7 separate regions of the Homo sapiens genome follow, and regions 1, 2, 4, 5, 6 and 7 are each linked to region 3. Evidence: promoter capture Hi-C in 16 types of primary human blood cells and fetal thymus (Javierre and others, 2016). All regions are on one chromosome and are shown on one strand. The core of a region is centred on a gene start or on the middle of the fragment in contact, and the rest is flanking DNA. Distances in the headings are between cores, read along the strand shown. Region 1 has its middle 11 kb from the start of SCYL3. Region 2 overlaps PRDX6 (peroxiredoxin 6). Region 3 holds the start of PRRC2C (proline rich coiled-coil 2C). Region 4 overlaps KIFAP3 (kinesin associated protein 3). Region 5 overlaps SCYL3 (SCY1 like pseudokinase 3). Region 6 overlaps SELL (selectin L). Region 7 overlaps KIFAP3 (kinesin associated protein 3).

What was found. Contacts are between HindIII fragments. The CHiCAGO score rates a contact against its expected background, and 5 or more counts as called.
Region 1: a contact is called between a fragment that was not itself captured here and the fragment with the promoter of PRRC2C in region 3, in 2 of 17 cell types (total B cells and monocytes). The highest score is 7.2, in total B cells.
Region 2: a contact is called between a fragment that was not itself captured here and the fragment with the promoter of PRRC2C in region 3, in 1 of 17 cell types (fetal thymus). The highest score is 6.8, in fetal thymus.
Region 4: a fragment that was not itself captured here is called in contact with the fragment with the promoter of PRRC2C in region 3 in 4 of 17 cell types (total B cells, non-activated CD4 T cells, total CD4 T cells and 1 more); the score reaches 6.4 in total B cells.
Region 5: a fragment that was not itself captured here is called in contact with the fragment with the promoter of PRRC2C in region 3 in 1 of 17 cell types (neutrophils); the score reaches 5.1 in neutrophils.
Region 6: a contact is called between a fragment that was not itself captured here and the fragment with the promoter of PRRC2C in region 3, in 1 of 17 cell types (total B cells). The highest score is 5.7, in total B cells.
Region 7: a fragment that was not itself captured here is called in contact with the fragment with the promoter of PRRC2C in region 3 in 1 of 17 cell types (total B cells); the score reaches 8.1 in total B cells.

Annotation. Positions count from the first base shown.
Region 1 is chr1:169,902,792-169,906,170 of GRCh38, reverse strand. No RefSeq gene overlaps it. Among named protein-coding and RNA genes, the nearest start is that of SCYL3, 11 kb to the right of the region's middle. The HindIII fragment of the contact is 5,363 bases long and covers 1-3,379 here.
Region 2 is chr1:173,477,777-173,481,335 of GRCh38, reverse strand. It overlaps PRDX6 (peroxiredoxin 6), which reads right to left. Exons shown (of 5, transcript NM_004905.3): 2 at 1-10. Among named protein-coding and RNA genes, the nearest start is that of PRDX6, 2.2 kb to the right of the region's middle. The HindIII fragment of the contact is 2,347 bases long and covers 150-2,496 here.
Region 3 is chr1:171,483,943-171,487,151 of GRCh38, reverse strand. It overlaps PRRC2C (proline rich coiled-coil 2C), which reads right to left and starts at 1,622. Exons shown (of 35, transcript NM_001387844.1): 1 at 1,417-1,622. RefSeq lists enhancers at 1,069-1,817, 1,724-2,033. The HindIII fragment of the contact is 3,004 bases long and covers 1-1,816 here.
Region 4 is chr1:170,067,902-170,071,522 of GRCh38, reverse strand. The region is part of intron 1 of KIFAP3 (kinesin associated protein 3); the gene reads left to right. Among named protein-coding and RNA genes, the nearest start is that of KIFAP3, 5.0 kb to the left of the region's middle. The HindIII fragment of the contact is 677 bases long and covers 1,116-1,792 here.
Region 5 is chr1:169,883,368-169,887,020 of GRCh38, reverse strand. All of the region lies in intron 2 of SCYL3 (SCY1 like pseudokinase 3), which reads left to right. Among named protein-coding and RNA genes, the nearest start is that of SCYL3, 8.7 kb to the left of the region's middle. The HindIII fragment of the contact is 3,614 bases long and covers 433-3,653 here.
Region 6 is chr1:169,698,353-169,701,889 of GRCh38, reverse strand. It overlaps SELL (selectin L), which reads left to right. Exons shown (of 9, transcript NM_000655.5): 7 at 202-330. Among named protein-coding and RNA genes, the nearest start is that of SELL, 11 kb to the left of the region's middle. The HindIII fragment of the contact is 2,339 bases long and covers 446-2,784 here.
Region 7 is chr1:169,920,352-169,923,921 of GRCh38, reverse strand. KIFAP3 (kinesin associated protein 3) reads left to right here. Exons shown (of 20, transcript NM_014970.4): 20 at 2,141-2,593. The coding sequence ends at 2,246. Among named protein-coding and RNA genes, the nearest start is that of SCYL3, 28 kb to the right of the region's middle. The HindIII fragment of the contact is 2,125 bases long and covers 1,163-3,287 here.

The DNA of each region.
Region 1 (3,379 bases), core at 158-2,657, 1.6 Mb after region 3:
CCTGTGTCCAAGTGTTCTCATTGTTCAATTCCCACCTGTGAGTGAGAACATGCAGTGTTTGGTTTTCTGTCCTTGCGATAGTTTGCTCAGAATGATGGTTTCCAGCTTCCTCCATGTCCCTACAAAGGACATGATCTCATCCTTTTTTATGGCTGCATAGTATTCCATGGTGTATATGTGCCACATTTTCTTAATCCAGTCTATCATTGTTGGACATTTGGGTTGGTTCCAAGTCTTTGCTATTGTGAATAGTGCTTCAATAAACATATGTGTGCATGTGTCTTTATTGTAGAATGATTTATAATCCTTTGGGTATATACCCAGTAATGGGATGGCTGGGTCAAATGGTATTTCTAGTTCTAGATCCTTGAGGAATCGCCACACTGTCTTCCACAATGGTTGAACTAGTTTGCAGTCCCACCAACGGTGTAAAACTGTTCCTATTTCTCCACATCCTCTCCAGCACCTGTTGTTTCTTGACTTTTTAATGATCACCATTCTAAGAGCTTCTTTATTTCCAGTCCTGGGCTGAAGGAATCTTATTGTTGTGTTCCAGCTTTATTGAGATATAATGGACAGATTAAAAATTGTATGTATTCAAGGTGTACACTGTGATGACTTGATAGATGGATACATTGTGAAATGATTATCATAGCCAGGCACGGTGGCTCACAGCTGTAATCCTAGCACTTTGGGAGGCCGAGGTGGGGGGATCACTTGAGCCCAGGAGTTCAAGACCAGCCTGGGCAGCAAAGAGAGATCTCATCTCTACTAAAATTCTAGAAAAAATTGGCTGGGCATGGTGGTGCATGCCTGTAGTCCCAGCTAGTTGGGGGTGGGGAGAACGTGAGGGGTGCTGAGTTGGGAGGATCGCTTGAATCTGGGAGGTTGAGGCTGCTGCGAGTCCTGATTGCACCACAGCACTGCAGTCCAGGTGACAGAGTGAGGCTTTGTCTTTAAAAAAAAAAAAAAAAAAAAAAAGATTATCATCACCACAATTAGTTACTATTTGTGTGTATGTGGGGTGAGGAAGGGGGAAGCCACTTAAAATCCACTGTCTCCAAATGTCAAGTATACAATGCAGTATTAGTAAGTGTAATCAGTGTGTTGTATGTTAGATCCCCAGAGCTTAGTCATCTTAAACTGAAAGTCTATACCCTTTGTCCAGCATCTCCCAATTTCCCCCACCCCACAGCTTCTGGCAACCACCTGCTACTCTCTGCAAAGGCATCAGTTTTAATTTGGTGATTTTGAAAAGGAGAACCACACAAGTTTGGAGGGTTCATACAAACTCCAGAAATGGAGTGAAATAGTTAAGAAAGGGACGCTGAGCCTGTGTTAGTCCATTCCCACATTGCTAGAAAGAACAACCTGAGACAGGGTAATTTATGAAGAAAAGAGGTTTAATTGATTCACAGTTCCACAGGCTGTATAGCAAGCATGGCTGGGGCATCCTCAGGAAACTTAAAGTCATGGTGGAAGGGCGAAGGGGAAGCAAGCACCTTCTTCACATGATGGAGCAGGAAAGAAAGAGAGCAGGGGTAGGTGCTACACACACACTTTTAAACAACCAGATCTTATGAGAACTCAGTATCACCAGGAGAACACAGGGGAAATCCACCCCTATGATCCAGTCACCTCCCACCAGGTCCCTCCCCCAACACTGGGAATTAGAATTTGACAGGCGATTTGGGTGGGGACACAGAGCCAAACCACATCAGGGCCTATCAATCATTTCTCACTGAAATTACCAAGTCTAGCTACTTGTTTTTATTTTTTAACATTTCTAATGTCTTTATGAGTATCCTCAATTTTTAGTTTTCTCAAATTTGACTTTTAATAACACAGAATATGTTATAAGGCACATGCTGTTGATAGAGTTCCACTTTGTTTCAACTGTTAATGACTTGATGAATGTGATATTCATCTCCCTTCATGTGTACCTGTGTACATGCTCGTACACAGTGATATGGTTTGGCTCTGTGTCCCCACCCAAATCTCATGTTGAAGTATGACCCTCAGTGTTGGAGGTGGGACCTAGTGGGAGGTGACTGGATCATGGAGGTGGTTTGTAATGATGTAGCGCCATCCCCCTAGTGCTGTCTCGTGACAGAGTTCTCATGAGATCTGGCTGTTTAAAAGTCTGTAGGGTCTCCCCTTTCACTCTTTTCCTCCTGCTTCTGACATGTAAGATGTGCTTGCTTCCCCTTCACCTTCTGCCATCATTTTAAGTCACCTGAGGCCTCCCCAGAAGCAGAAGCCTGTACAACCCACGGAACCATAAGCCAATTAAACTTCCTTTGTTTATAAATTACCTAGTCTCAGGTATGTTTTTATAGCTGAGCAAGAATGGACTAATACACATAGCATGGTCTTTTTTTTTAATTGAGAAATAATACAGATACCATAAAAGTACCTTTTTAAAATTTACATTTAAAATGTACTTTAAAAATATAATTTAGTGGATTTTAGTATATTCTAAAGGTTGCACAACCATCACCATTATCCAGTTCCCAGAATGCTTTCATCACTCCAAAAGGAAACCTCCTACCCATTAGCAGTCATGCCCCCATTCCTCCTTACCCCCAGCCCCTAGCAACCATGTATCTGCTTTCTTTCTGTGTGGATTTATCTAACCTGGACATTTCATATAAATGCACTCAAACAATGTGTGGCTTTTTGTGCCTGGATTCTTCCACTTAACATGATGTTTTCACAGCATCCATGTTGTCACACGTATGAAAACTTTATCCCTTCCAATGGCCAAATAATATTCCATTGTTTGGAATACATTTTGTTCAGCCATTCATTGGTCCAGGCATTTTTTAGGCGGCAATAAAAGTACTCAAAATGAAGACACAGCAAAGCTCCAAATGCACACATCTACCCAGCAGACAAGTGACTTCACTGTCTACTATCACGGGGAGCAGAAAGAGTGCCCTGAATTGAGCTCCCCTCTGAGACCTAACCAAATGCACACCTGGCCCAACCTTTGTCTGGAGAGTTAATTTTGTGGTACCAATTTCTGTTTTAGTTTTTCTCTCTAAAATAACTTTATTAGTGTAATCACATTTTCATGTAATTCCTAATTACCCTTCTTGGTCTGAATTCCTATTATTAAAATGCCGTGTTTACACACTTGGTTTAGGGCTACTCTGATTTCAGCACATCACTACCGGATTTCCTTTAGCTGTTTCTTGGTTTCCTATTTCTTGCAGAAGATAAAAAAGACAAATAAGCCCTTCCTCTTCCTCCGCACCTCTCTTATCAAAAATGGTGAGAAGATAGCAGTGGTGCTATTCCTTGTGTTTTGGGAACACACGTGTCTTTGCCACTTGGTTGTACACACCGTAGTGGCTTTTACTGCTGCTAATGTCAC
Region 2 (3,559 bases), core at 74-2,573, 2.0 Mb before region 3:
AATGCCCCATCTGAAAGGAAGAAAAACAAGGTCACAATTGAATTAAGAGTTATCACCAACATCACAGAGAATGAAAAGTCACAACTTCTGGATCAAAAACAGGCTTTCTTTTTTAAATGAATGCTTATGATGATATTTACTTTTAAGCTTTTCTGTTGAGGAGTGCTTTTCAATCTACTTACCTCCAGAGAAGCCTATGCTTATAGCCCAATTCAATCAAAGACATGAAATTCAAGATGACACATATTTAAAAAGACTAATGTTAAGGTGTTGCCTCCTTTAATAATTATGGTGCCACCCTGACTCCTTTTTGGCTAATACAATCTGTGCTATTCAAGCCAAGTAGTTCACTGAAAACACTTAATTATTTCTTCTTATCCTTTTCTACATTTTTTTCTAGCATAGACCCTGACATTCAGCTCCAATAATGGATGTCCCAGTATGCCCTGAATCCAAACAAATGCCTGACTGCAATAATAAACAAATTATGTAATCTGAAATAAATAGGTTTCTATCTTCTATTTATATGTAAAAATTAAAGTTGACACTTGGCTTCTCTGAAGCAAGTGGATATAAAATCTTTTGTAAAACCACTTTACTGATCTTACCTGCCAAACATGACACCCAATATTTATACTCTGACAAAACAATAGCACCTTCACAGTTTTACCTATCTCTTCATTTGCAGTTTCTTTTTCTTCTTTCTTCAGACCAAGCAGGTAGAATTTTGATAGCCTGCAATGTAGATTTCTACAACAGCAAATTCTTAGGTAAATACTAATATCTAAGTCATCATTGTCTAAGATTTTATAATTTTGAGCACATTTCAAGCTGTCACGAAGAAAGCTGAAGTACCATTTCCTTCTTCTTGGCAACAGAAACTACTCTTTCAACTGAAAAGGAAAATTTAACACTCAGTTCTCCACATCCCCATCAACTTAAACCATCCTAAACCAGATGATTTAGGCAGGATCCTAAACTAGTAGATAACTAAATCTAGCCTAGATGCCAAGTTGACCTTTCTGAAGTTTCCCTGAGCACAGAGAACAAGCAAAGACAAGGGCACCTCCTTCCTACTTACGGCTGCCACTCAACTCCCAAGGTTTCAAGAAGGAAAAAGATCTTCTTACAAAAAGGATGGAGGGCCCTATGGCAAGACTGGGAGGAAAGTTAGTATTTTTTTTTAAGATTGTGGAGGTGTGCACTATGTTCACTTTACTATGAAGGGCAAAAGGAAGAACATAGAGTATATCTTTTGAAGTAGATAATATCACTATGAGTAAAATCTAGGCCTTAGATTCTATGGAAAACGATCTATTTAATGGTTAGATGAGACTTAACAGAAGGTCTCCAGAAGTTGAGAAGAAATGGAACAGGGCGTTTCCTCCTCTATCGTTAAAAGGAGGATAAATTAGAAAAGTTAGGAGTTCTTTTTCCACTGTGAGTCCATAAAGACTGTTTTGCTGAATCATGCAAAAGGAACTGGTTTTAAGCCAGTTCACGTCCTTCCCTCCCTCAGAAGTGAAACTCCAGTTTACCTCATGGCTACAAATAGGATAAACTCCAAGAATGTCTTACCTTGGCCTTCCTTCCCCTCCAAGTCTTCCTACTGCTGCACTTAAGAGTAATTCAGTGACATGCTCCCATTTTCTTACCCATTTTCAAAAGACAAAAGGTTTCCTCCTTCAAGAGAATGGTTCCCACTTACTAAGCCCCAGAAGACCCCTGGAAAACACATATTTTGCTTAGTGAAGATGTACTATGAAGAAGCTGCTTCTACCACTTAAAGAAACAGCGATAAGGTAAACTCACCCAATGTAGCACCCAACCTCTTTAGTTGTTTACAATGATCAGGGGTAAGGTAGAGAAATACATTTTAATTTTTTCTTCTCAAAAATACCTGGATCAAAAATTGACAGTCTGATTTGGGATCATATACAGAATAGAAAATTGGAAAAATCAGGCAAAAATCCATGTGTTATAAACATATAAAAGGCTCAAACTTCTCTTCCCGGTAAGGTAGGGAATACTATACCTGATCCTAGGCAGACTTGTATATTAGTTAATAAATGCAGATATTTCTACCGTGTTCCTAACTATGGCTCCCTGATAAAGTACCACTTTTGATCAAATCTAGATGGATCTAGAGGCCAATAAACATTAACAAAACCCCAAAAAAGTATGGTTAGCTTAAAAAGTGACAGCATTTATAACTGTTGGCACAGTAAATACGTTTTATGCTAATATTTAATCTATACAAGCTAAGAGTTCTGGAAATAGTTTATGTTTCATGGGGATGGGGGATGAGGGCTGCAGGTAGAAATGGGAAGGAACACAACTCTAAAAATCCCAAGGATTGCTGGAGAAATATTACTACCTAGATCCTAAGTATAAGAATGGCCATAAGCTGTATTTCTAAAGTATTTTTCTGCATTCAAGGTTTGAATATTCCATTTCTCAACCTTTTTCTGGCCTAGTCCTATCTTTCACAAAGCTTAACTTTTCCCTATTCAGTGGCTGGAAAAGGGACTTAAGAGGTTATAAAGGGTTGGATAGGCATATGATGTGTAAGAATCTGTCCCTGGTTCTCTGCACAGCCCTGTCCAATCACTGATTAATTTCATAAGCCTGTCTCCCTGGATACTGTATATAAAAAGGATATAATCTGGGGAAGAACTGTTGTCAAGCCTTGGAGCCCCACAGTGTAGTGGGACCACTAGTACTCCAGAACCATAATATAACTAGACATGCCTGGAATGCTTCTGATGAAAACTAAGCAACTTCCAGTTTGCTGATTCAGGAGCTGTTAAAAAAAAAAAAGGGCAACACCGATTTACTACTCCTATCCATAATGGTAAAACTGCCAAGTCAGATCACAGGTCATCAATTTGGCTATCATCAGCAAGCTCATGTGCTAGAAGCAAGGTAGAAAGCGGAGGGGACAGTGAGGGGCAAGCCACTGGAAAACAAGAGAGTCTCAAAGTTGGGGAGTACACGTGTCCTGGAGCCTGGAACGGCCATCACTAGCAAGAATAGGCCACTCCAGCGGAACAGCGTCAGAAAGTCCTTCCCTCCAAGTGTTGCAAGTTCTGGAATCTCTGAAGGCACACCTACGCAGAGTGTTCTTGGCTCTTCCTAAAGCTGTTATCAAATCATATCTTGGCCATTGGAGGCGGCTCTGGACAAAAAGTCTTTCGGCCACCTACTTGGCAGCTAGTGGTTTTAAATTTCACATTTTGTGCCCAGAAGCCTGCAAATACCACTGCACCCTCAGATGATACGTTGGCCTTCCTGTAACCTATAGCCAGCAGCTGTGTCCTCCGACTTTGGCTTTAGACACCCATCCTCCCCAGGGAGCAAATTCCAGAACGGAGGGTGGGAGGGCGGTGCGACCCTGGGCACTAGTCCGGGGAAGTGATCGTCAATGCCGCCCCGCCCCTGCGCCCTCGGCCTGACCACGCTACCTGCACAGTTTACTAAGACGAGTTAAATGGACAACAAACCCTCCCGCGGGCGGTGAGTTTCCAGAACCCGCAGAACACAATTTTATCCTCCCCAC
Region 3 (3,209 bases), core at 373-2,872:
TGTGCTCAGTGTATAGCAAAAGGTCACCTAATGGAGAACAGCCACACATAAGCTAAGCAGAGCAAACACAATCACTTAAAAAGGCTATATTCTGAAAATCCACTTACAGAAAAGGAGAGAATTACTATTTGACTACATGCTAAAGACAAAATTCAAGTTCAATTTATTCCTAATTTTTTAGGGGATCAATGCATTTGGGGTGAGCCAGAAAAGATGCTGCAGTGCATCTGTGACACACACCTAAAAATGGCTCCAGTCAAAGCAGCATCTTAATTACCAATATGGGAGGTGAAATCTAGTTTTGAAAAATGGTGGGGTTAGGCTTGGTAGGTGCTTAGTATCACCCTATTATTTTTATTTGCAGGAGTAAGCTATTAAGTACTCAACAATCAAAAAATCCTCCGATTCTTCTGGTGCATTCCAAATGAAAATCTTACAGCAGAGCCGCCTACTGTACAATTCTAAGTACTCTAACGAGGTATGAATCTATGAACCCAGGCTGAAAACCAGCCAATGCGGAAATCCAGGTAGCTTTATAAGCCAGCAAACATCAGGCATGTCAGACCCTCAAAAGATCCCAAATAATGTCAAAACACACATACATCCCTTTAAATTAAAGGTACTCCTCTCATGCAAAGGAAGGAAGACTCTATCAATGTCTCTATAGTGGCCCCATGCCCTTTTCTTCAGTCCTAAAACGGGGCCTTTACCCTGACACCACCAATATCAACGCTATCTCAAAGACAGGGAGCTACCGAGATTCACCACGCAAGTTAGAGGATGGAGCGGCCTAGAGTGTGAAAAGACTACCCAAATCCTCCTCCGGAGTTGGGCAGCACTTCCCTAGCGGAAGTAGGGTTGGTCTTGATTCCCCGAAGAGCCTCTCATCTAACCAGGTCTTTAAACCAGACCCTCCCATACATTGCTCATTGCAAGTCCCACCCTCACTACACAGGAAGAGGTAGACAGTGAAAGCCCCGGCTGAGTCCTTCAGTTGTTTGGGGAAACGCATACCCGACACTAAAAAAAAAAAAAAAAAAAAAAGACTTCACGTCCGCCAGTCCAGGAAGACGGAAACCCCCTTCGCTTACCCGGCAACATGCGTAATCCCCTCGCAGGGCCAGGACTGGGGTCTAGGTGGGAGCAAGACAGACCGGTCCAGAACTCCCGCTGCAGACCACATGGGGCGGGTCTGACTCCGGTTTCCCGCTCCCCAAGCTGGAGGCCGACTTCCCCAGACACAGAGATGATGGTAACCAAACAGAAGGGAAATGCCCGGACCCAAGGCCCTCTCCACGCGGCCCCCTAGCCTCCGGGCGCCAGGGTCTGGGTGCGCTCCCACGCCCCAGGCCGCACTCTGGCCGTTCCCGATGGGGCCCTCTTTGATCGCGGCCCCCACACCCTCGCTTTCCTTACCGGTCAGGGTGAGTGTCAAGTTTGCGCACTTCGAGGGTCTCCGCCGATCTCTGATCGAAAGAAGGGGGAGGGAAAGCTGGGGTTAAAGGGGTGGCCGGAAGGGCCACCAGACTGGAAAAGCCGAAGCTGCGGATGGACAAACCGCCAAAGCACTTTCGCAGCTTTCCGAGGGGGAGCGAGCGAGCGAGAAAAAGAAGCAAGATGGCGGCTAGCCAGCCCCTACGTACTACGTCATGACGCTAAGTACGTAGGTCAAATCTCCGCAAGACCACACTCCTGCGCAGAGACGGCCGGATCACGTGAAGCCTCCGTGGCGGCCCAACCCCGACAGAGGGTGCTGGCGCTTCCTGCTGGACGGAGGGAGTTTCTGCAATCAGAATTATCTTTTCAGGACAAAGCTTGGACCTGAGACCTTTCTAAGAAGTCTTGAATTGACCACGTTTACAAGTTGATAATAAGCCTCAGTGAAATGAGCACTCTTATGTCTGGTGGGTGGATGTGTAAATGGTTGAACCAGCAGTTCGCCAGTATGTCTCAGTGAATTTGGGGCAAGCTGAGAAGTCTTGGTGTATTGAAAAGTTATCACAGAGAGTGAAAGTAAAACTAGTGTGAGGAACAGAGTAGCATGGGCTGCTGAGAGCACTTTTTAAGTTTCTAATTATGGATGTGAGATAAGCCATTCAGTTTATTTATATGATCTCTCCATCACAGTGTTCAGCTCCGTTGAATAGTAAGATTCACCCATGCTGGCTTTTACTAGGCAAGTGTAACATAGGCAGATGAGTGTATCTGGAAGTGGGAGACTACAATGATGATAATATTATGTCAGAACAGATGGCGAATGTTTAGTAAATGGTATCTTTTGTCCTCTTTGTGAACTACCTATGACATATTTAAAATTCAAGGATTTCTTACCACTTCTGGTCTGAACGATCTTCCCCGCCAGTAGCTGGTGTATGTCCATGGAATTGTCACTGTAGCAATGTTAGAATAAATGAAATAATAAAGAGAGGTAAATTATGAACACCTCCCTCCCCACTAATATTAATTTGAAGTAGAAAAGTCTGGACTTGCTTGGTGGCTCATGCCTGTAATACTAATACTTTGGTAGGTCAAGGCAAAAGGATTGCTTGAGACCAGGAGTTCAAGACCAATCTGGGCAACATAGTGAGACCCTACCTCTGCAAAAAAATTAAAAAGAAAAAAAGCTAGCTAGGCATAGTGGCACATGCTTATAGTCCTAGCTACCTGGGAGGCTGGAGGCAAAAGGATCACTTGAGCACAGGAGGTTGAGGCTGCAGCGAGACTCTTTCTCGAAAAAATAGAAAAGAAGAAAAGAAAAAGTTTTTTTATTGATATAGGGTCATTGCCAGGGGAAAGCCTACTGATCATCCACAAGAGGACAAGGAAGCATTACTTTAGTGAATTTCTACAACCTTCTAGGATCTGGTCTATAGTGTCCTGGTCACAGAAACATCTTTCTTTGTTTTTTTGGAGGCAGGGTCTCACTTTGCTGCCCAGGCTGGAGTGTAGTGGCATAATCACAGGTCACTGAAGCCTCAACCTCCCAGGCTCAAGCAATCCACCTGTCTCAGCCTCCCAGGTAGGTGGGACTACAGGTGCTTGCCACAAAACCTGGCTTTTTTTTTTTTTTTTTTTTTTTTTTGCCAGTAGAGACGAGGTCTTGCTATGTTGACTGGGCTGGTTTCGAACTCCTGAGCTCAAGCAAGCCTCCCGCATTGGCCTCCCAAAGTGCCGGAATTACCGGCATGAGCCACCACGCCCAGCCAAAT
Region 4 (3,621 bases), core at 205-2,704, 1.4 Mb after region 3:
ACTGGAAGCCAGAGTCATGCCCTTGAACTTCCCAGCCTGCGGAACTGTAAGCTAAATAAACCCCTTTTCCTTATAAATTACCTAGTCTCAGGTATTGTGTTATAGCAACATAAAATTGACTAATTCAGTATTCCATTTTATGGATATACCACATTTTGTTTGTTTATTGCTCATCTGGTGGTGGACATTTGGGTTGTTTCTACCTATTGGCTATTGGGAATAAAGCTGCTGTGAACATTACTGTACAAGTTTTTGTTTGAACACTTGTTTTGTATCTTTTGGTGTATACCTAGGCCTGGAATTGCCAGACCATATGGTAATTCTATGTTTAATTCATTGAGGAACCACTAAAGTGTTTTCCCTAGTGACTGCACCATTTTACATTCCCACCAGCAATGTATAAGAATTCAGTTTTCCGTATCCTCACTAACACCTGTTATTTTCTGTTCTGTAATTATTACTATACTAGTGGATATCAAATGGTATCTTATTTTGGTATTGATTTGCCTTTCCCTAATTACTAATGACATTGAGCTTTTCATGTGCTTCTTGGCCATTTGTCTTTATTCTTTGGGAAAAGGAGTTCTTTGTAATAGAACCTTGTCAGATACATGATTTACAGATACTTTGTCCCATTCTGTGGGTTTTCTTTGCACTATCTTGGTATGTAAAACTTTCATATGCAAACATTTTTAATTTTGGTGAAGTCTAATTTATTCTTTTGTTGCTCATGCTTTTGGCATCGTTATTTAAGAAACCACTGCTAAATCCAAGGTCATGAAGGTTTGTCCCTCTGTTTTCTTCTAAGAGTTTTACAGTTTTAGCTTTTACATTTAATATCCTTGATCCATCTCGAGTTAGTTATTGTCTATGGTATATGGCAAGGGTCCATCTTCATTCTTTTATATGTGACTATCTAGTTGTTCTGACATCATTTGTCAGAACAAATGTCAGAAAAGAACAATTGACTGTTCTTTTCCTCCATGAATGGTTTGGGCAATTTTTTTGAAAATTAAATGACCAAAAATGTTGGGGTTTATTCCTGCACTCTCAATTATATTTCATTGATCTATCTGTCCGTGTGCTAGTACCTCACTGTTTTGATTACTGAAGCTTTGTAGTGAGTTTTGAAATCCAGAAGTGTGAGTCCTCCAACTTTGTTGTTCTTTTTCAAGGTTGTTTCAGCTATTTAGGGTTCCTTATATTTCCATTTGAATTTTAGGGTTGGCTTTTTCATTTCTGCAAAAAAAGCTATTGAAACTTTGGGAATATAATGAATCTATAGATCACTTTGGGGAATATTGCCATCTTAACAATATTAAGTCCTTCAGTCCATGAACATGTGATTTCTTTTCATTTAGTTCATATTAATTTCTTTCAGCAACTTTTTGTTTTCAGTATACAGTTGTTCCTTGGTTACGTTTACTCCTGAGTATTTTATTCTTTTTGATGCTATTGGAAATGAAGTTTTCTAAATTTCCTTTTCATATTTTTCAGCTCCAATATGTAGAAAAACAGTGGATTTTTTTGGTGTGTTCTGATCTATTCTCCAACTTTGCTGAATTTATTAGCTCTAGCCAGTTTTTTGTGCCATTTTTAGAATTTTCTATATATAAGATTATGTCTTCTGCAGATAGAAATAATTTTACTTCTTCTTTTTCAATCTGGATGCCTTTTTATTTTTTTTTCCCATGCCTCATTGCTCTGGCTAGAATTTCCAGTACTATGTTGAATAGAAGTCAGGAAAGTGGATAAACATTCTTGTCTTGTTCCTGATCTTAGGGGGAAAGCTTTCATTCTTTCACCATTGAGTATGATATTGGCTGTAGATTTTTCATATATGCCCTTTATTATGTTAAGGGACTTTTCTTCTATTCCTAATTTATCAAGTACTTTTATCATGAAAAGATGTTGGGTTTTGTCAGATGCTTTTTTCTGCATCGATTGAGATAATCATGTACTTTTTTTCTTCATTCCATTAATGTGGTGTATTGTATTGAAATGCCCATGTGGCCATGTTGCGTGGTCCTTTTAATATACTCCTGTATTCTGTTTGCTAGTATTTTGAGGATTTTCACATCGACATTCATAAAGGGTATTGGTCTAAAGGTTTTCCTGTAGTGTCTTTGTCTTGCTTTGGTATCAGGGTAATGGTGGCCTCATGGAATGAATTAGGAAGTGTTTCCTCTACTGTTATATCTTTTGGAAGAGTTTGAGGGGTATTTATGTTAATTTGTCTTTAAATGCTTGGTAGAATTCACCAGTGAAGCCATCTGGTACTGGACTTGTTGAAAGGTTTATGATTACTGATTCAATCACCTTACTTCTAATTCTGTTCAGATTTTCTGTGTCTTTTGAGTCAGTTTTGGTAGTTTGTGTGTTTCTAGGAATTATTCTTTTTCATGTAGGTTATCCAATTTGTTGGTGTTCATATTATTCTCTTGTAATTTTTTAATCATCAAAAGAGCAGCAGTAATGTCCCACTTTCATTTCTGATTTTAGTAATTTGAGTCTCTTCTTTTCTTTTTTAGTCAGTCTAACTAAAAGTTTTCCAAAAATGTTTGTTGATCTTTTCAAAGAACTAACCTTTGGTTTCATTTTCTCTATTCTTTTTCTAGTCTCTGTTGCTGCTTTTTATTATTTCCTTCTGCTAGCTTGGGGTTTTGTTTGCTCTTCTTTTTCTAGCCCCTTAAGGTGTAAAATTAGGTTATTAATTCAAAATCTTTTATTTATTTTTTTAAATAGAGCGTCAGTATAGAGTGTCTTATTGTGGATCTGTTTGAGTTTATCTTTGAATTTCATTGAGCTTCTTGGATGTGTAAGTTTGTCTTTGGTCTAATTTGGGAAGTTTTTGACTGTTTTTTCTCCCAGTATTCTCTATGTTTCTTTCTTCCTCTCCTTTCATACCCTCATTATGCATATGTTGGTATACTAGATGGTGTTCCATAAGTCTCTTAGGTTCTGTTTATTTTTCTTCATTCTGTTTTCTTTCTGTGCCTCAAAATGGACAGTTTCATTTGACATATCTTCAAGTTTGCTGATTCTTTTCTCTCTCTGCTCAGATCTGCTGTTAAAAACCCTGTAGTGATTTTTTTATTTCAGTTATTGTACTTTTCAGATCTAGTGTTTTTGTTTGGATCCTTATGATAATATATTTTTAAACTATTTATGTGTTGAGACATTGTGTTTCTCCTTTTTCTTAGTTATTTGCACTGGTTTCTTTTTGCTCTTTGGACATATTTAAGACAGTTGATTTAAAGTCTTTGATAAGTCCAGTGTTTGTGCTGTAGCATGGACAGTTTCTGTTAATTTTTTTTATTGTGAGAATGAGAATGAGTTTCTTGTTTCTTTGCATGTTTCATATTTTGTTTTGTTGAAAACTGGGTATTTTGAATATTATGGTATCCAAAGGAAAAAAAGAAAAGAAAAAAATACTCTTCAGATCTTTGTAGGTTGACTCAGTGTTTGGATATGGCTTCAACACTTAGCCAGGCAATTTACAATTTTACCTTAGCCTTCATTTGCTGCTTGCACAGAGCCTGAAGACCAGCCAGAGGTAAAAGCTTATGATCTTCCCAGGTTTTTTCTGGGTATGTATTCTGCCCTGAGCATGCTCATGGA
Region 5 (3,653 bases), core at 990-3,489, 1.6 Mb after region 3:
CCTAGGTATCTGAAATACTAAAACAATATATTTAGCTTGCCTCACTTTCTCTAGAGTTTGGGTTGTTGGTCACACCTTTGGTAGTTTTAACGATTATTTCAAGCAGATATATAGTGTTTTCTGTTACTGGATAACAATATACACTTTCTTCACTGTTACAAGTAAAAAACAACAATCCTAGTATACACCAAGATGAAATGCAGGTATAAGCTCTGGCCACAAAATAATGTGAGAAATACTTAGTTCTATCTGACCATCTCATTTTACATTGAATTCATCAGCTATAATTAACAGTATAATTTGCTAACTGATGATGATGACTCATATATGTAAGCCTATAAACAGTGATAAATTCTAAGCCCGAATTTGGTTGCTGTAGTTTGCTGTAATCTAAGTGTTTAGTTAGGGCTTTGTGGTAAGCTTATTAAAGCTTATAAAAATGATTCTTGAGTGTCTTTATGCCAGGAATCACATTGGACTCTAAGAGTGGTATGTAGATGCTATATAAGTGCTCTATTTAGTATTGTTGGAGTCATTATGCTCTTCCCCATAATGAATTTGGGCTGTTGTGGAAGGGTTAGTCAATGTTATTTAAGAATGCACATTGTGTGGGCATAACAAGAAATGGAAGAGATGATGGCTATGCCCAAAAGAGCTTGCATTCTAATTGGAGAAAGCTGTTCTCCTCTCTCATACTGACTTTTTTTTTTGAGATGTAGTCTCACTCTGTTTCCCAGGCTAGAGTGCAGTGGTTCGATCTTGGCTCACTGCAACCTCTGCCTCCCGGGTTGAAGTGATTCTCCTGCCTCAGCATCCCACGTAGCTGGGATTACAGGCACGCGCCGACACACCCAGCTCATTTTTGAATTTTTAGTAGAGGTGGGGTTTCACCATGTTGGCCAGGATAGCCTCTACCTCTCGACCTCGTGATCCGCCTTCCTCAGCCTCTCAAAGTGCTGGGATTACAGGCATGAGCCACCGTACCTGGCCCATGGTTGACTTTTTAAGAAATTATTTTTTGCCCTTCATAATCAGAATCCAGTGCTCTTACGTGGCTTCTGGGCACTATCCACTCAGAAGAACTTCAGAAGTATCCCCCATGCCTCAGGTATGATGGACCCACCAGATGGAATGGCCAGCTACTTGCTCCCCACCACACCTTGCAGACTTCACGCTCTCCTTTTTCCTTGGATGTTAATAACCATCCAACCTGCCATTCTAAACTAATTATCTGCCAAAATCTCTAGTCTGAGCTCCAGATCTATATTTTCACTTACCTATTGAACATTTCCACCTAAAAGTTTTATCAGTACCTCAAATGCAAGCTCTACAGAATGGAATTTTTATTCCTTTCTCTTTCTGCATTTTATTGTTAGTTTATGATCTAACCTTCAGATAGTGGACATTTACAAAAAAAAAAGCATCTGCATTTTGTCTTAGATTTACATCTTCAGAGAAAAAGGAATAATATTTTTCCCTGAAGATCTTTGTTCTCTAGTTTAGGCATCTTGGTTATTTTGTTTACTTAACATATTTAACAGCGTGAAATTATGGCTTTGTCTCATCTAAAAGCCTGCAGGTGGATTTGGGCTGTAATGCTGAGTCAGTTAACTTTGCATAGTTCTCAAAGTGAAATAGCGAATCAGAGGCAGAACAACAATAAAAAGTTAAGCCTCTGAGGCTTGAATGAATTCTCTGGATAGCTGAATCATAACTGATTCCTGATAAAGGGGAATCATTTATATTTAGGGAAAGAATCTCATACTTAAGATCCCTGTTTGGGTGTAGAAAAATATCATCATTGATAAATTATATAATACTATTCATATTTAACAATAAAGGTCCTTACTCAGAACCCTCTTTCAGAGACCATCACCTAGGACAGTAAATGGGATGTAATAGGTATTCAATAACTTTGGGGAAAGTGCTTTCAAGACACTCATTCAAAAATAGTCATCTTTCTCTACTAGGGCAAGAGCCATTTATTTGCTCAACTGATGTTCATTGAAAAATATCCTAGTTACCCTTAGCAAGTATGTCTTGTTGCTATTCTTTAGAGCAGCAGAGGCTTGAATCAAAAAATGTCCTATTTGATTCTGAACTGCTAGCCTTTCCTGTGAATCTGTGTGCATAATTTATGCTTAATATTAAATGTACCAAAGGAGAGTGAGAAATAAGGTTCTTGCTAAGTTAAGTGCCTTGTTCAGAAACATGTAATGAGTCATTTCTTCTTCTCCTTCTTTATTAAACAAACAAGTACTCACTTTGCATCAAGAAAATTTCTAGGCATTGTAGAGTAAAACAATAAGCAGAAGAGAACATGAAAGATTTGGTTTGAAAATTATTTGAAATGATTCTTAAATGAAAATATGAGGGAGGCTACATAATTTTATACAGAAACCGTAGCTCAAAACACACCTGTAGGCCAGGCAAGGTGGCTCATGCCTATAAGTCCAGCACTTTGGGAGGCCGAGGTAGGTGGATCACCTGAGGTCAGGAGTTTGAGACCAGCCTGGCCAACATGGTGAAACCCCATCTCTACTAAAAACACAAAAATTAGCCAGGCATGGTGGTGGGCGCCTGTAATCCCAGCTATTCGAGAGGTTGAGGCAGACGAATCATTTGAACCTGGGAGGCGAAGGTTGCAGTGAGCTGAGAACACGCCATTGCACTCCAGCCTGGGTAACAAGAGCGACACTCTGTCTCAAAAACAAAACAAAACGAAATAAAAAAACACTTGTAAAAAATTATTCCCAGTTAACTGCACTCATTTAACCAACCTGCTAACACAATTTTTGGTTTATCTGGATCTTTGCTGTATTTATTAGTTTGTAATTGCTAGTTAAAGAAATTTTTTCTTCAATATTTTCTTAATTATTTTTTATTGAATTAACTCGAGGGTAACAACTTTCTTCCTAAGAATAAATAAATAAACCCTATTGGAGCTATTCCCAGAGTTGGCAAAATTTGAGATTATTATAAGAAAATAAAAGAAATTGGAGGCTGGGCACAGTGGCTCACACCTGTAATCCCAGCACTTTGGGAAGCCGAGGTGGGTGGATCACAAGGTCAGGAGTTCAAGACCAGCCTGGCCAACATAGTGAAACCCCATCTCTACTAAAAATACAAAAACAATTAGCTGGGTGTGGTAGCGGGCGCCTGTAGTCCCAGCTACTTGGGAGGCTGAGGCAGGAGAATTGGTTGAACCTGGGAGGCGGAGGTTGCAGTGAGCCAAGATTGTGCCACTGCAATGCAGCCTGGGTGACATAGCGAGACTCTGTCTCAAAAAAAAAAAAAAAAAAAAAATGTAATTGGAGAAACCAACCCACTGAGAAGATTTTCCTATGACCCTGCCTGGAAGTAGTTTAATAAAGTTTGAGGCATCTGATACAAAAATTATACCAATGCAGGGTATGGATTCTTATGCTAGCCCATAGTCCTCCAAGAAGGTGTTCAGTATTCACTGCTTATTTATGAAAATGCCACCTGGTAATATATTGAGGGTTATCTTCCAAATGAAATATTTCATCACTCTCCTCCCAATCTGATTGGACAGGGCTTCCTCAGTGATTGTATAGGGTAGACCCTAGAGCTTTAATATCATGTTAGGACCTAGAGGACATTATGTTAAGTCAGGTGTCCCCAACCCCTAG
Region 6 (3,537 bases), core at 366-2,865, 1.8 Mb after region 3:
GACTAGCAAGGCTGGTCCAGTCTTTGCCTATGCTGTAGACTCATCAGGGGCCTTCCCATGCCAGTTTCCTCATCTGTCAAATGGCATCAAATGGGCTACTACTGGGAGATGTAAGGAGGAAAAAAGTCAAATATCATGAGATAGACTAAGGAAATAATGCTGGTGGTCTCATGCTATGTGCCTTACTGATTTCTCTTTCAGAATTGGACAAAAGTTTCTCAATGATTAAGGAGGGTGATTATAACCCCCTCTTCATTCCAGTGGCAGTCATGGTTACTGCATTCTCTGGGTTGGCATTTATCATTTGGCTGGCAAGGAGATTAAAAAAAGGTATGTGAGTTTAACTTCACATGAAAAGAACACAACTTTAAAGTGAAAAAGAAAAAAAAAAGAAACCCACAGGAAATTAAATGTGATAGATTCAACACAAGCAGGATGCCAAGCTTTACATTCTAGAGCCATCAGTCCCTGGAGACATGTAAATCAGCCCAGGACACACCTTCATTAAAACAGGTTGGCTGATTTTCGCTTTTCATCTGATAAACTTTTAAAAATGTCTATTACCTTCAAGGCAGCTTGCTAGGCTGATAACAACTAAGTGAGATATTCTAATGGTTCTTTGCTCTTATGTAATTCTTTAATACTTTTTTTTTTTTGAGACAGAGCCTCACTCTGTCACCAGGCTAGAGTGCAGTGGTGCAATTTCAGCTCACTGCAACCTCCGCCTTCTGGGTTCAAGCTATTCTCCCACCTCAGCCTCCCAAGTAGCTGGGACTACAGGAGCGTGCCACCATGCCCAGCTAATTTTTTGTATTTTTAGTAGACACGGGGTTTCACTGTGTTAGCCAGAGTGGTCTCGATCTCCTGACCTCGTGATCTGCCTGCCTTGGCCTCCCAAAGGGCTTGGATTACAGGTGTGAGCCACCACGCCTGGCCTGCTCTTAATTAATTCTGAAAAAATGACACACTATCTCTGTCCTCTAAGAGCCTACATGCCTTGGATTTCAATGCTACAATTCCACTAGGAAGTGGGTCTAATGTCCACTAAGGTTTCAAGGCACTGCTCCCAAATACCTGACCTCTTCAAGAGTCACCTGGTTCCCAACACATGGGCATTGCATTAACCCTGGGAGAAATTCCCATGTATTCTCCCAAGTATCTATTCACCAAGGCCACAGCTCTAACCAAATGCACCATATATGCTTTCCAACCATCCGTCACTGGAGAGGAAAAGAGAAGGAGGACTGCCTTGAGAAGTTAACATCTGCTGCCCAGATTATCACTCCCTTTACCTTAAGGCATGAGTGTGTCTCAGCTTTAAAGTGTGAGCAACCCACTAGCCTGCAGCAGGCCTTGGGTGTATGGTGCCACATTTGGCCAAACTCACCTGGAAGAACCATTCAAGGCTGTAACATTCATGGACATTGGGCAGCTTTTAAGATATACCTGTTTTGGCCAGGTGTGGTGGCTCATGCCTGTAATCCCAGCACTTTGGGAGGCCGAGGCGGGCGGATCATGAGCTCAGCAGTTCAAGACCAGCCTGGCCAACATGGTGAAACCCTGTCTCTACTAAAAATACAAAAATTAGCCAGGCGTGGTGGCGGGCACCTGTAATCCCAGCTACTCGGGAGGCTGAGACAGAAGAATCACTTGAACCCGGGAGGCGGAGGTTGCAGTGAGCTGAGACCGCACCATTGCACTCCAGCCTGGTGACAGAGTGAGACTCTGTCTCAAAAAAAAAAAAAAAAAAGATATACCTGTTTCAAGTTCAGGGATGATCTCGAAACAATTGCTAACCAACTGCTCTGTGTTGCCTTTCTGTGGGCTCAGTTGATTGTCATTTTAATTTTCCTTCCATCAAATTAGTTAGTACGTATTCTGTTCACTGAATATGGTATGTAAAGGTTGCCCCCTGTCCATTTACACTGGCAATTACAAAAATATTATTTATCAGTCCCTAATTGCGTGCCACTCTGATCTTATCTTTCATTTAAATTTGAGAATAGTGGGCGCTAGGTAAGTTTTCTAACCAATCCAGAAAGACAAAGTGTGTGAGGGGGGTGGGGATTGTTGATATGCAAGAACTTCATTAGCTATGTATAACCTGAGAGCACTGAGCAGTTAAAATGTCTCTGCCCTTGCTATTAGAAATTCTGTGCTGATTGAATCTCACTATCTTATAGTATTATACAGTACTAAGTACTATACAGTACTAAGTATAAGTATCAAGTACTGCATTAAGGCAAAAGAAGAATGACAGTTTTCTCCAACCACTGATTATTCTTTCCATTGAGACTTCAAATCTTGACCCCGGTTGTCCTGTCTTTCTTCCTACCTTGGGCGATGATGGCAGAACTGACGGATAGAGAACAGGGTGGGTTATTACACACTGCCCCCTGGGATAAGGTGGCTATTGTCTAAATAATTTTAAGGACTTTGGGGCTGTAAGTCACCTTAATAAGGAAGCTATTTATTTCCGAATTCTAAAATCTTTTAATAAGTGTTTGTAGAATCAAAAGAATAGAATCAAACTCATTTGCATGTAGTGAGGGGTTAGCTGGCTAAGGCTGTTTTATAAGCAAGGGTAAAAAAATTAGAGGGGTTGTTTTTAAATTTTTTACCTTGGAGTCATTTCTGTACAAGATCTCAAACCGATAACTTGAAAACTGCTGTGGGAATCAGTGTGGGGCAAACAGGAAACAGATAACGGGCAGTTAGGCTAGTTACAGTTATGCCAACAAAGAAAACAGAAGCCCCAAAAGATCACTGGCTTGGTAGGAAGCTTAGGGTATCTTTAAGATAACATTAAATAGTCTTCATCTGTGGGCCAGGCACCTTGGCTGTCACCTCTAATCCCAGCACTTTTGGAGGCTGAGGCAGGAGGATTACTTGAGCCCACGAGTTCAAGACCAGCCTGGGCAACATGGCGAAACCACATCTCTACAAAAATACAAAAAATTAGTCAGGCATGGTAGCATGCACATGTAGTCCCAGCTACCCAGGAGACTGAGGTGGGAGGATCACTTGAACCCAGGAGGTCAAGGCTGCAGTAAGCCATGACAGCACCACTGCACTCCACAACAGAGTGAGGCCCTGTCTCAAAAAAAAAAAAAAAAAAAGTCTTCATTTATAAAACAACATCTTCCATTTTCACCAACTTACAAATGATTCTGCTTTCCAAAGATTTTAGTTGTAGGTTGGTCCTTTAAAACATGAAGAGTATTTTTCCTATGGAGGCAATGGTAGAAATAATGGCTACATTCCCAGGCTAAATCTAAGACAAAATATAGTTAATGGCATTTACAAGGATAAAAGTAAAAAGTCATAAATCTCTATGTGTGTGTTTAGGTGTGTGTGTGTGTCTATGTGTGTGTGTATATGTATATATATACACAGAGAGAGAGAGAGAGAGAGAGAGAATTTATAGGCTTTTTGGGTTCTAATAGTTAGAAAAAGGGCACAGGTAACTATTTAGAGCATGGTAGCCAATGAAGTGACTAGAGCCTTCACCCCTATTCTTCTGTCCTCAGATGAATC
Region 7 (3,570 bases), core at 976-3,475, 1.6 Mb after region 3:
GAGGACCAAACTGCAAAAAGGCCAGATATTCCTTATGGTGTTATAGCTTACCAGATCACCACGCAATTGCCTAGGTTGCTACAACCAGCGTTGTAGCTGAGACGCTCCTTGTTCTGTGCCAATGACTGGTGAACTCCCTTCTGAGGACCATCTTCTTTTAGGTAGAATTACAGTGATATTGCTAACAAGTCGTCTGTGAGATACTCTGAAGGTGCCTTTGCATGTTTCCTCACTGTCCCACATATGCCTCTTGTTTTCATATTACTGAAATAGATCTTGCCATAGCCCCTAGATTGAGAAACAAGCATAAGATTAACTTGAGTTTAACCTAAGTCTACTGCTATTTGGCCTCAGAGGAGTTGCTAAAAAAGATAAGGACTGGTTGAAGACAGGTAATAAGCAAAAGATGAAGAAGGAACAAGTTGAAATCCAAGCTATGTAATCAACAGTTATATAATTGAGAGTTCTTTAGATACATGATTACTTGTTAGCCTTAGTGCTTGCAGAGAACAGTTTTCAATAACTTCTCTAATTTTAAGCTGATACCAGTGTCTCTTAGTTCACTGATTCCACTAATTTCTGAAGCATCTTTTAAGCTACCTCTTGATTTCCTCATCACAAAATTTAGTCTCTCTTCCCATGAGATCAAAGTTAGAAAAAGTGCCTATATTTTTACCATTTCAAAATAAAATGTAGACTTAAAAATTTCAACCAACTTTGAGAAACTATAGACAGAGTTTTTATATAGAAGGACCCCAAAACAACAAATTTTGTCCAGAATCGCTCAGTACAAATGCTAACCTGAAACTTGTATTTCAGAACTTCCATTCTCCTAAAGGGCAGAGTCACTGGACCAGTATGTGTTATATGTATTTTGGCTCTTTACATTTACTCTTTAGTTCCATCTTAATACACACAAGCACGCGTGCACACAAACACACACACGCATTCACACATTTATTTAAAACCTTAACATTTTAATAGTTACTTCTAAAGTGTGTCAACTTAATCTCACTCTGAGTGTGACAGGGAGTTAGTGCCTATGTGAATATATTTTTTCATCACATTCAGTTTTTGCTATTGAGGGAAAATTATCTTTCCATCTCATGTAGTGCAAACTTAAATCTTAAATCATTTAAATATGTTTTATTTTTCCAAAGCTTACATTTCTGCATTACAAATGGTGTCCATTGATTGGAAGTCAAGCTCACTAGCATTCACTGCATGAGCTATGCATGAGCATGTTAAGGCCACCATGTTCTGCCTGGCAAAATAAATACTTTATCATTTTCCTAAGTGTTGGATAATTCCCTGACCTTTAAAAAGGACTTTGGAGAACAGATTTTCCTCTAAATAATGTATTAATAGACCAACAAGTAATTTTTTTAAAATAATAATCATGAAGTTTAACATACTTCAAGCTATCTTTACAACTCTGAAGGTTATCTTTGGGTTTCTGTTATTCCCATAGAATAAGTTGAACCAAAATTTGTAATTGTCTTGCTGTCACTCAAAAGAAATAGATATGTTTTGTAATTGTTTGCATTGAGGAATCAGAGGAAGGATTTGCAGATCAAATCTGACTAATTTTCAAATTTTGTCAAATTCCTTATCTTGTTCTTTTAATCATAGGCTTATGGTATGATTTGGCCCTGCATGAGAGTTCACTGATATAACTCAAACACATGTTTTTACTAAAAGTGGAATTAGTCCTGTATCTTCATATGAAAAGACATTATAAACAGCAAAACTCACTTTACTACAGTTTTATTTTTATCATTCCCTAGCAATATATTACTGATCATTGCTAGCATGTAAAATCTTTTCATATTTTTGCTTAAGAGCCATATATAAGTAATTTATTAAATAAAACTTTTCTGATTTGATTCTTCCACTTTGTTTCAAATAGTACCTACTGACAGAGGTTTCCCATACTTTTAACACACATTGTTAGAAGTATTTTATTATATACACTTTTAATGGCTCTATTAACCTTAAAAAAAAAAGTTAATGATATCCACCTAAATCACTATCCCTGCTAGGAAGAGAATCTTGGTGGTATAAAAATGTAGGCCTCTTAATCTGCATTGTGGATGTGTGATGAAAAACATAGCTTATCATTCTTTTTTTTCTTTTTTAGCCTTGGAATGGATGGCTTTGGCCAACCAGTTGGCATTCTTGGACGCCCTGCCACAGCATATGGATTCCGCCCTGATGAACCTTACTACTATGGCTATGGATCTTGATAAAGTATCTGTTTCCATGTGTAATCTCAGCTTAGAAGAAATCTGTGTGGGTTGGGTTAATTTTGGATCTTTGCCTAATAATGCATGTTGATGTTATTGTGGGTCTGTGTTTGTTTTTATTTTTATATGTTGTTAGCTGCAGATTAACCCCAGCCCCTCTGTCTTCTGTTAAGTACAGTTGATACTGACATTGTTCACTCATCAAACCACATCTTGATGCTAAGTAACATTTCCCATGAGCCACAAAACTGAATGCTGAAAAGCTACTAGACTGGAAAACAAACACTGCATTATGTATGTTAAGTGACTAATTTAATTTCAATTAAAAAGCGTAAAGTGAAAATGAATAAGTGAAAGTCATGTGTTTATATTTCACACATTTCACTACGAATTACATGTTAATATAGGGTGCGCGTGAATTTTATTTTTTCTCCTTTTTTTCTGCTTGTAAACTCTTGAGTAATTTGTATAATATATGCTACCTTTAAAATTTATAAAAAGAACATCACCTTCATATTCCATGCCATGTGCCTGAAAGTTTCCTTCCCAAAGTTTATTAACTATGAGTTTTCAATTAATAATGGAACATATGTCATAAGTTATTTATGGTTATAGTCTCTTTGGTGGTTTTAATTCATATCTTCCTAGTTGTAATATAGAAATCCTAGGACAAGTAGTATACAAGACAAGCAGTGATACAAGATTAGCATTTGGCTTTTAACTTTTATTCTTCATAAATTTAGTATCTAAAGCATGGGAAAGCTAATTAAAAGTCGCATTAAGGAAAACTAAGGAACAGAATATTTCACTCACTTGGGTACCCAGTTCCCAATTGTTCACTTGTTCTTATAACGTACATTTAGATAGCAAGAAATGGAGAGACATTATATAATTCATAATGGGTTTTGAAAATAGTTCAGTGTTTTCATATTAAAAAAATGTTCAATTCTACTTGAAAAGCTGAGCAAAGAAATAACCATAATAATAACTATAATCAGAGATAGTTCCATGATCACCTGCTATGGGAGAAAATATGAAGCTTCAAAGGGAATACATAGATCAAAGATAAGACTTCTGTTCTTGAATTTAAAATCTCATTGATCTAACTACACTATTTATGTGGCTTAAATTACATTTTAAGCAGAAGATAACATTTGGAAAAGGCCTTTGAAATAACTCATTCCATCTACTTATTTAAGAAACCAATCACATAAAAAATTTAAATGTAATCAACAGATATTTTCCTGACTACCTGCTATGTGTAAGGAAGTATATGATGCCCCTTAGGAGATGTAAATCTGAGGTATGTTTATGCCTTTGATCT